Linked DNA regions of Homo sapiens: region 2 is linked to region 1. Evidence: promoter capture Hi-C in human tissues and cell types (Jung and others, 2019). All regions are on one chromosome and are shown on one strand. Each heading gives the region's core, a stretch centred on a gene start or on the middle of the fragment in contact. The rest is flanking DNA. Distances are from core to core; before and after follow the strand shown.

Region 1 (5,069 bases), core at 1,620-4,119:
CCTGTGCCTGGCGTTGCTCCCGTGCTGGATGACTTGCAGTTTTCTAAACACCTCACATGTGCTCAGACCAACGTGCTCCGCCATGCCGATCCTCCTGTTCCCTGCAAACCCAAATCAGCCTTCAGGGCTTCAGCAGCGTTGAGTCACGAAGCATCCCTCAGCAACCTCCCGCTGAGCACCCACAGGATTGGTGGCACTCTGCTCACCTTCCCTGGTGGGTACACCCCTCTAGAGGCGGCTCCCGGAAAAAGAATCTGTAACTATTCATTTTTTAACTTCCAGAGTCAGGCACGAAGTTATACCTAGCAACGGATCCCAGAAGGGGTCCTGGTGGTGCTGTCAACATGGAAATTTTAAAGGTCACATTTTTTTTTCCTTGAATTTCTTTTCAAATTTTCGTTGAGTTTTCCTTTTCAAATTTTAGGTGAGCTTCTTGCGACATGATGTTTACACTCTCAGAAGAATGAGGGGTTTTGCCTCTGTCTTGCTATATCACAACTTATGTCTTTAGAAACTATTTCATACTTCACACACCAAGACACTCCAGCGATGTTCTTTAGCAGAGGCAAGTAAGGAGTTTAGCATATAGAGAAAATAAAGCAGAGGGAAAAGTGTTACTTCTATAGTGTAAGGTGCATTCACGGTATTTTTCTCCCGAGTTGAGGCTGTAAACATCTATTTCTTGTTTTATGGCTCCATCTGCTGGCAGGTCTCAGAATGTCTTTCTCATCAACACCTTAAATCCTTGGAAAAGTTATGTTCACATTGTATTCCAAAAGGCACCATTTAGTTTTTACAAAGCGAAAGCCTTTGGAAAGCTATTTTTCTTTCAAACTACTGGCTTCCAACGCCTTTTGGCCTCGCCCCAAATTTATTAGCCTTCTCTGAGCATAAGAATAACTTGATGTTACTTCTTGAAATTCCTTGCACCCGTCCCAGACCTCCTGGAATCAGCGTGATCTGGGAGTCTGTATTATTTGGAAGTTCCCTCAGTGGATGCTTACACTCAGGCTAGTGTGGGAAACGCTGACATCTAACCTGCCCCTTTCATGGCACAGATGAGACGTAGGATTTGGGAAGGTGGCTTGGGGAGCCTTCAGCCCTCTCCAGCCCCCGATTCCCAGGCATGCGCTTTTAAGTATGAATAATAAGCAATATGTAGGCCGGGCTCTGTGGCTTATGCCTGTAATCCCTGCACATTGGGAGGCCAAGATGGGTGGATCACTTGAGCCCAGAAGTTTGAGACCGGCCTGGGCAACATGATGAAACCCTCTTTCTACAAGAAATACAAAAAAATTAGCTGGGTGTATTTCTCGTATTTCTACAAGAAATACAAAAAAATTACTACAGGTGGCACACACCTGTAGTACCAGCTACAGGGGAGGCTGAGGCAGGAGGATCACCTGAGCCCAGGAGGTCGAGGCTGCAGGGAGCCATGATCCCACCATTGCACTCCAGCCTGACAGAGCCAGACCCTGTCTCAAAACAAAACAAAGAACACAAAATTATGTGGGCATGGTGGTGGGTGCCTGTAGTCGCAGCTACTCAGGAGGCTGGGAGACGGAGGTTGCAGTGAGCCAAGATCCTGCCACTGCACTCCAGCCTGGGCGACAGAGTGAGACTCCGTCTCACAAAAAAAAAAAAGGAAAAGCACTATGTTTACCGTATAAATGCAGTTTTAAAACCTGTCTGCAGAGGCGACCCTATTTCTACTACCTCCTACAATCATGTTTATAGTTATGGAACATAACAGGTCAGGCAGTTAGTGAGCCTCAGTCCCACTTCCACCTTGACAAATAAACCTGTTCTATCTTACAATATTTCCGGTTGTTTTGTGGCTGTTGACTTTGCCTCCATGAGGAAATTAACTCCTATGGAGGGCACCTAGCTCGGCGTAGACCCGGTCGCTACCACCTGCGATGCCTTGGAAATGCAGCCGGCGGGGCCCACCTGTGGAGCCTGCAGACCGGAATCTCTGGTCTGTGTCCTAACCAGCCCTGCAGGTGATCCCCCGCAGGTGAAGGCTGAGAACCCCTGCGGTCCACGTTGGCATGCACCCAAGGCACAAGTCATTGAAAGCTAAATTTCCAGGTAACGGCCTCCTGGCACCTTAGACTTGCATTGCAGTTTTATTTTCTTTGGGGTCAAAGTTCAAATCTCTGTGTGCTGAGTGAAAGAGCTTCCGACGTTAAAGGCCAGACCAAGATCGAGTCCACTGCTACAGTAGGGCGCTCGGTGCCCACGTGGGCACCATTTCGAAGTCTATGGAGGGTCTACTTCGTGCGCCGCCGCCCAGTTCCACGAGCTAGTAGGGAACTGGCCCGACCCCGTGTCCGCCTGCAGGGGGCTGGCACTGGGGGAACTGCAGGAGTCAAGCCAGGGAAGGCCGGGGGTCTGGGCGAAGCAGAAGAGGAACAGGGCGGGGCCTGGGTGGGGCTGGCCGGGGCCTGTGGGGAGGGGGCAGGGCACGTGTTGGGTGTCTGGGCGGGGCCAGGCGGGGTCTTGGGGGGACAGGGGCGGAGCCTGTGGGGCGGGGGCGGGGCCTGTGGGGGCCTGGGCGTGGCGTCTAGGCAGGGCCAGGCGGGGTCTTGGCGGGATGGGGGCGGGGCCTATGGGGAGGGGCCAGGGCATGTGCGGGGTGTCTGTCCGGGGCCAGGCGGTGTCTTGGGGGGCCAGGGGCAGGGCCTGTGGGGCGGGGCGGGCCTGGCTTGTTGGGCCTGTGCCGGGTGTCCGGGAGGGGCCAGACGGGGTCTTGGAGGGGCGGGGCCGGGGCCTGTGGGGCGGGGCTCCTCTGGTCCCGCCCCGGCCACATCAGAAACCGCCGTTTGCGGGGCAGCCAATGAGGGCGTGGCGCGCGCCGCTTTCCGCCGTTACTGGGCGTATGGCGTACAGACACGAGGCCGGCGCCCGGGAGGCGGTGTTCATCCGCCCGGGAAAAGAGCGCCTGTTGCTCGCTGCCCGCGTGTCCCTGGCTCTCTCGGGAACCCAGCGCCGAAGGCGAGGTGGGCGCGGGCCGAAGGAGGTCCTGGGAGGTCGGCGGCGCGGAGGGATCTCCGCGGGAGCCGTTGGGGCTGTTGGCCTCGGGCTGAGGTGCAAGGACCAGGACTAGGGCGAGGGCAGCGGTCCAAGGTGCGGGGCCAGGCTGAGGTGCTAGGTGTGCGGGGGCCGGGATGCGGGGGCGGCGGCTGGGGGTCCGGGATGTGGAGGTGAGGCTCGAGGTGCGGGGACCGGGTTGCGGGGGCGAGGTCCCAGGTGCGGGGGATGCAGGAGCCGGGTGCGGGGTCGAGGTCCCAGGTGCGGGAGATGCAGGAGCCGGGTGCGGGGGCGAGGTCCCAGGTGTGGGAGATGCAGGAGCCGGGTGCGGGGGCGAGGTCCCAGGTGCAAGGGATGCAGGAGCCGGGTGCGGGGGCGAGGTCCCAGGTGCGGGAGATGCAGGAGCCGGGTGCGGGGGCGAGGTCCCAGGTGTGGGAGATGCAGGAGCCGGGTGCGGGGGCGAGGTCCCAGGTGCGGGAGATGCAGAAGCCGGGTGCGGGGGCGAGGTCCCAGGTGTGGGAGATGCAGGAGCCGGGTGCGGGGGCGAGGTCCCAGGTGCGGGGGATGCAGGAGCCGGGTGCGGGGGCGAGGTCCCAGGTGTGGGAGATGCAGGAGCCGGGTGCGGGGGCGAGGTCCCAGGTGCGGGGGATGCAGGAGCCGGGTGCGGGGGCGAGGTCCCAGGTTTGGGAGATGCAGGAGCCTGGGGTGCAGGGGCCGGGGTGCGGGGGCGATGTATCAGGTGTGGGGGGTGCGGGGCCGGGGGGAAGCGCTGAGGCCCGACTTGCCGGGGCTGTAGGGCCGGGGTGCGGGGGTGCAGGGGCCGGGGTGCGGGGGCGAGGTCCCAGGTGCAGGGGCCGGGGTGAGAGGCTGAGGCCTGAGTTGCCGGGGGTGCGGGGGCGGAGGTCTCCGCATTGGCGGCCGTGCGTGAGACTGCGGGGACCTGAGAGCTCTGCAGGAGGGCCTTCGGGACCTCCCGCACTACCCACGCGGCCGCGGGGCGCGATCTCTGCGGAGGGCGAGGGCCCCTTCCCGCGTCCGCCGCCGCTGCGCTGCGCCCCCGGGAGCCTTGGGAGCCGGACGTTGGGAAGAGGACGGAACTCCGGAGGACCCCAAGTGAGGCGGCGACCGCGACGGCCGGGCTCTGCGAGGCCCGGGGGTCCTCGCGGGTGCTGGCGGCCCGGCCCTTGGCACCTGTGGAGGGAAAGGGGCGGCGGGGCGGTGGCGTCCTGGGATGGATGCTCTCGCCGTCTTCAGCCCCGGCGGCCTCCAGGGCAAAGCCGGCTGCACCCCTGCGCAGCCTGTTCTCTGAGCGCTTTTCTTTTCGTTTTTAAGTTGTGGCCAGAGAGACCCCGCTCGCATAGAATGTACCGCTCAACGGTTTTTAGGCGTGTGGCGCGGTGGTGGTTCCCACGTGCACGGCGTGGTCCTGAGCTCAGCGCCGGAGGGACGTTAGGTGGAAGCGTCTTTGGCAGAGCTGGTAGCGAATCGGAGAGGTGATTTCCAGCGAGTGTGGTTATTGGAAGCACACACTTGCTTTCTGACTTTAAGAATTCAATATCCAGACTGAGGTGGTTTTGAAACTGGAAGGAGATAAAGCTGAAAACCAGAGTTGTGCTGGGAAACCTGGACGTAGAGCGCTGAGCCCCCCAGGTATTTAGTGACCAGCACAGCGCGCCGCCGTGGGTTTCAGGCCCTGGAGATGATGAGAATCAGCTGGAGGGCTGCTTCCAGTCGGCTTCTAACTCGGGAGGGCTGAGAGCCGCTCCCCACCCCGTAATTTCTGTTCCCAGCCAGTCCAGATGCTGCCCGTCAGGGACCAGGCTTTGAGAACTGACGTGCTGCTTTAGGAATATTTCCTGCTGGAGATGAGAGTTCAGCTTGTCACTGTTTTTTAATCACTGTTTCACACCGTTGTTTGTAAGGTGTCAAGCGACGGACTGGGTGCAAAGGCATCAATTGTGATTCGCAGCCTAGTTGGAGAAGCTATGGAGTGCAGAGATGTGGGGAGGGAGAAAACAGGTTACCATGTAGTAGGG
Region 2 (5,069 bases), core at 939-3,438, 180 kb before region 1:
GCCAAGTGATTTCCGCTGAATTAATTTTAATTTAAAGGTCCTGAAAAATTACTCACTAGACAAAAAACAACAACAACAAAAAAAAAAACACTATAATAAAAATGGCAGTCTTTCAAAAATAAAATCATGCAACTTTTCACTTGGGAAATAACACAGTTGAAGGTGGTGTTCTAACTGCCCGGAGTTTCTACCTTCTTTTTCACTTTCTCCCTCACCCCGACTTCCTCCAGCACCTCCTAGTGAGACCCAGGACACCCAGGGACAGCGACCCAGGGGTGGGTGCCTGAACCTGCCTATTAATTCTGGGATTCTGGGCGCTCAAATGTCTGTTGAACGGATGAATGAATGAGTGGAAAGGTGAGATTTCCCCAAGTTTCTTACCGATGTAAAAATTGTAGGGCTTGTTTTAATTAAAAGCCAATACTCTCCGAGGAAGTGGCCCCCTCCTGCACGGCGTGCAGAAAGCTGGTCAGTGAGGGGGGTTCCTGGCGGGCCCCATCTCCTTCCCGGGCGCTTCCTAGGGAGACCTTGCCCCGTGCGCAGCGTCCCCACCGCGGGGGCCCGTGCAGCCGCCCCCCACGCCGGGTGGAGCGCCGCCAACGCGGGAAGCCCCAGCACTGCCTCCAAAGATGTCCGCACACTCCACCCTGCTCCCTGGAACTATCCTCAAACGGGCAGGGGGCAAGCGAGGCCGGTGGACGCGGGACTCGCTCCTCTGACCTCTCCCCGGCCCCCCGGGAGGTAGCGGGAGATTGCACACGCGATCCTGCGAGTTTCCGAACTTTGGAAGATCGTGACCCGGAGAGACCCTGGGAGGAGAGGGCCGGCCACCTCCTAGGGGTGCTGTTTTTTTAAGGGTCAACCCAGGACGCTACGGGAAGCACCTGGCGCATCCTTGGGAACAGTGGGGCTTGGCGGTGGGCGCCCACCGCGAACGCCCTGGGCGGGGGAAGGGAATGGCGGGGGGACGTCGTGTCCTAAGTGACCCCGTCACAGACCCGCCCCAATCCGAGGGGGGATGAGCTCAGAGGACCTGCCCAGGACGCTCCTTCTCCACTTTCCAGGAAAACCGAGCGGCGTGCGCGCCTCCGTGTCCTCGCGGGAGCTGGGGGTCCCCGGGCAGGCGCTGACGCGCTCCTCCCACGACCCACTCCATCCCACCCTACTCCGGGTCCTCCTGCGGGGCTGCAGCCAAGGAGGGCGCTGGCCGGGCACATCACTCGCCAAATCACATAAATACCCCACGAGCGAATGACTTCCTATAATAAATAAACTCAGCCGCCAAGAAGGCATCTCCAGCCCTGCTGGCGCGAGGCCCCGGCTCTGCGGCTTCGGAGGGGGCGGGGGTCACCGCGGTACAAACCAAGCCCGCACTTCCCGCGGGGTGGGAGGCGGTGTTCAAAGTCCCGGGACGCTTCCCGCCCCTCCCCCTTCCCGCCTTCTTAGAGGAGACCTCGGATGAGCGGCCCTAAAATCCGGATTCTCGAGCCCCTCCCCCTCCCCTTAGCTCGTCTCTTTGAAATTTCAAAGAAAATCCCTCCTCGGAGCCCGGAGCCCGGGGCTGGTAGCACCTCCCCAGCCTCAGGAAGATGCGGGCAGGTTTACAAGCAAGGGCCTACTTTATGGCCCAGGCTATAAAACGCAAATCCCACCTCCCTTTGAAAGCGCCCTCCGCCCGGGACTCACCATAAAAGGAAGAGAAGATGCACCCCGCGCCCCTCGCCGCGGACCACCCCCAAACCCCTTCTCCCGCCAGTCCCCGAACTTCCCGTAACCTCGGCGTCCTCGGGGTGCCGGGGACCATCCCGGGGACCGCCGGGAAAGGGGGCGCCGGCGGAGAGGATAGCGAGAGGCAAAGTTGGAGGCCAGGCAGAGAGAGGGCGAGGAGAGGCGGGCGGGACTGCCGGGGAGGGTCGCAGCGCGCAGAGCCCCGCGCGCCAGGCGGGCTGTCCCGGGGCTGGCGGGCGACGCGGGCGGGACTAGGCGCTGCGCCCCCCGCAGGCTGGGCTGCAGGCCGGGGGGGATCGGCCCCCGCGGGGCCCGGGAGCCCGCGGCGGGGCGGCGGGGAGGAGGCTGCCCCGGGCCGCTGCGCTTTCTCATGCAAAGCAGCGGCGGGGCGGGGCGCGCGGCCCGGGGGCGGGGCCTGTCAGCGCTCGGCTTTTCTGCCCCCCTTTGCCTTTTTGCGAGTCTTCTCATCCCGGGACGCAAACCTCGAAACAGCTGCCGGCTGGTCCCGGCCGAGGCCGGCGCAGGGAGGGAGGAGCCGCCCGGGCTGTGGGGGCGCCGCGAGCTGGGCCGGCCTCGGTGTGCCCGCGCCGCCAGCCCGCTCCAGACGCGCCACCTGGGCGCTCCAAGAAGAGGCCGAAGTTTGCCGCGGCCGTGAGTTGGAGCTCGCGCCGGGCCGCTGCGCCGGGAGCTCCGGGGGCTTCCCTCGCTTCCCGGTATTGTTTGCAAACTTTGCTGCTCTCCGCCGCGGCCCCCAACTCGGCGGACGCCGGGCGCGGAGAGCCGAGCCGGGGGCGCTGTGCGCAGCGCTCGGGCCAGGCCGGGCGGGCATGGGCGGGGGCCCGAGCAGGGGTGGAGAGCCGGGGCCAGCAGCAGCCCGTGCCCGGGAGCGGCGGCGCTGAGGGGCGCGGAGCTCCCCGCGAGGACACGTCCAACGCCAGCATGCAGCGCCCGGGCCCCCGCCTGTGGCTGGTCCTGCAGGTGATGGGCTCGTGCGCCGCCATCAGCTCCATGGACATGGAGCGCCCGGGCGACGGCAAATGCCAGCCCATCGAGATCCCGATGTGCAAGGACATCGGCTACAACATGACTCGTATGCCCAACCTGATGGGCCACGAGAACCAGCGCGAGGCAGCCATCCAGTTGCACGAGTTCGCGCCGCTGGTGGAGTACGGCTGCCACGGCCACCTCCGCTTCTTCCTGTGCTCGCTGTACGCGCCGATGTGCACCGAGCAGGTCTCTACCCCCATCCCCGCCTGCCGGGTCATGTGCGAGCAGGCCCGGCTCAAGTGCTCCCCGATTATGGAGCAGTTCAACTTCAAGTGGCCCGACTCCCTGGACTGCCGGAAACTCCCCAACAAGAACGACCCCAACTACCTGTGCATGGAGGCGCCCAACAACGGCTCGGACGAGCCCACCCGGGGCTCGGGCCTGTTCCCGCCGCTGTTCCGGCCGCAGCGGCCCCACAGCGCGCAGGAGCACCCGCTGAAGGACGGGGGCCCCGGGCGCGGCGGCTGCGACAACCCGGGCAAGTTCCACCACGTGGAGAAGAGCGCGTCGTGCGCGCCGCTCTGCACGCCCGGCGTGGACGTGTACTGGAGCCGCGAGGACAAGCGCTTCGCAGTGGTCTGGCTGGCCATCTGGGCGGTGCTGTGCTTCTTCTCCAGCGCCTTCACCGTGCTCACCTTCCTCATCGACCCGGCCCGCTTCCGCTACCCCGAGCGCCCCATCATCTTCCTCTCCATGTGCTACTGCGTCTACTCCGTGGGCTACCTCATCCGCCTCTTCGCCGGCGCCGAGAGCATCGCCTGCGACCGGGACAGCGGCCAGCTCTATGTCATCCAGGAGGGACTGGAGAGCACCGGCTGCACGCTGGTCTTCCTGGTCCTCTACTACTTCGGCATGGCCAGCTCGCTGTGGTGGGTGGTCCTCACGCTCACCTGGTTCCTGGCCGCCGGCAAGAAGTGGGGCCACGAGGCCATCGAAGCCAACAGCAGCTACTTCCACCTGGCAGCCTGGGCCATCCCGGCGGTGAAGACCATCCTGATCCTGGTCATGCGCAGGGTGGCGGGGGACGAGCTCACCGGGGTCTGCTACGTGGGCAGCATGGACGTCAACGCGCTCACCGGCTTCGTGCTCATTCCCCTGGCCTGCTACCTGGTCATCGGCACGTCCTTCATCCTCTCGGGCTTCGTGGCCCTGTTCCACATCCGGAGGGTGATGAAGACGGGCGGCGAGAACACGGACAAGCTGGAGAAGCTCATGGTGCGTATCGGGCTCTTCTCTGTGCTGTACACCGTGCCGGCCACCTGTGTGATCGCCTGCTACTTTTACGAACGCCTCAACATGGATTACTGGAAGATCCTGGCGGCGCAGCACAAGTGCAAAATGAACAACCAGACTAAAACGCTGGACTGCCTGATGGCCGCCTCCATCCCCGCCGTGGAGATCTTCATGGTGAAGATCTTTATGCTGCTGGTGGTGGGGATCACCAGCGGGATGTGGATTTGGACCTCCAAGACTCTGCAGTCCTGGCAGCAGGTGTGCAGCCGTAGGTTAAAGAAGAAGAGCCGGAGAAAACCGGCCAGCGTGATCACCAGCGGTGGGATTTACAAAAAAGCCCAGCATCCCCAGAAAACTCACCACGGGAAATATGAGATCCCTGCCCAGTCGCCCACCTGCGTGTGAACAGGGCTGGAGGGAAGGGCACAGGGGCGCCCGGAGCTAAGATGTGGTGCTTTTCTTGGTTGTGTTTTTCTTTCTTCTTCTTCTTTTTTTTTTTTTATAAAAGCAAAAGAGAAATACATAAAAAAGTGTTTACCCTGAAATTCAGGATGCTGTGATACACTGAAAGGAAAAATGTACTTAAAGGGTTTTGTTTTGTTTTGGTTTTCCAGCGAAGGGAAGCTCCTCCAGTGAAGTAGCCTCTTGTGTAACTAATTTGTGGTAAAGTAGTTGATTCAGCCCTCAGAAGAAAACTTTTGTTTAGAGCCCTCCCTAAATATACATCTGTGTATTTGAGTTGGCTTTGCTACCCATTTACAAATAAGAGGACAGATAACTGCTTTGCAAATTCAAGAGCCTCCCCTGGGTTAACAAATGAGCCATCCCCAGGGCCCACCCCCAGGAAGGCCACAGTGCTGGGCGGCATCCCTGCAGAGGAAAGACAGGACCCGGGGCCCGCCTCACACCCCAGTGGATTTGGAGTTGCTTAAAATAGACTCCGGCCTTCACCAATAGTCTCTCTGCAAGACAGAAACCTCCATCAAACCTCACATTTGTGAACTCAAACGATGTGCAATACATTTTTTTCTCTTTCCTTGAAAATAAAAAGAGAAACAAGT

What was found. The method cuts DNA at HindIII sites, captures the fragments that hold promoters and counts their contacts. A contact is called where the count stands out against the background at its distance.
Region 2: a contact is called between the fragment with the promoter of FZD10 here and the fragment with the promoter of PIWIL1 in region 1, in 1 of the 25 tissues and cell types used here (neural progenitor cells).

The regions. Positions count from the first base shown.
Region 1 is chr12:130,335,018-130,340,086 of GRCh38, forward strand. It overlaps PIWIL1 (piwi like RNA-mediated gene silencing 1), which reads left to right and starts at 2,870. Exons shown (of 21, transcript NM_004764.5): 1 at 2,870-3,129. It overlaps LOC101927786 (a long non-coding RNA gene), which reads right to left and starts at 1,223. Exons shown (of 3, transcript XR_242978.5): 1 at 1-1,223. RefSeq lists an enhancer at 1-163. The HindIII fragment of the contact is 14,764 bases long and covers 1-5,069 here.
Region 2 is chr12:130,160,276-130,165,344 of GRCh38, forward strand. FZD10 (frizzled class receptor 10) reads left to right here and starts at 2,189. Exons shown (of 1, transcript NM_007197.4): 1 at 2,189-5,069. The coding sequence starts at 2,668. The coding sequence ends at 4,413. FZD10-AS1 (FZD10 antisense RNA 1) reads right to left here and starts at 1,403. Exons shown (of 4, transcript NR_033834.1): 1 at 382-1,403. RefSeq lists enhancers at 669-1,235, 1,236-1,802, 3,389-4,384, 4,470-5,015. The HindIII fragment of the contact is 10,091 bases long and covers 1-5,069 here.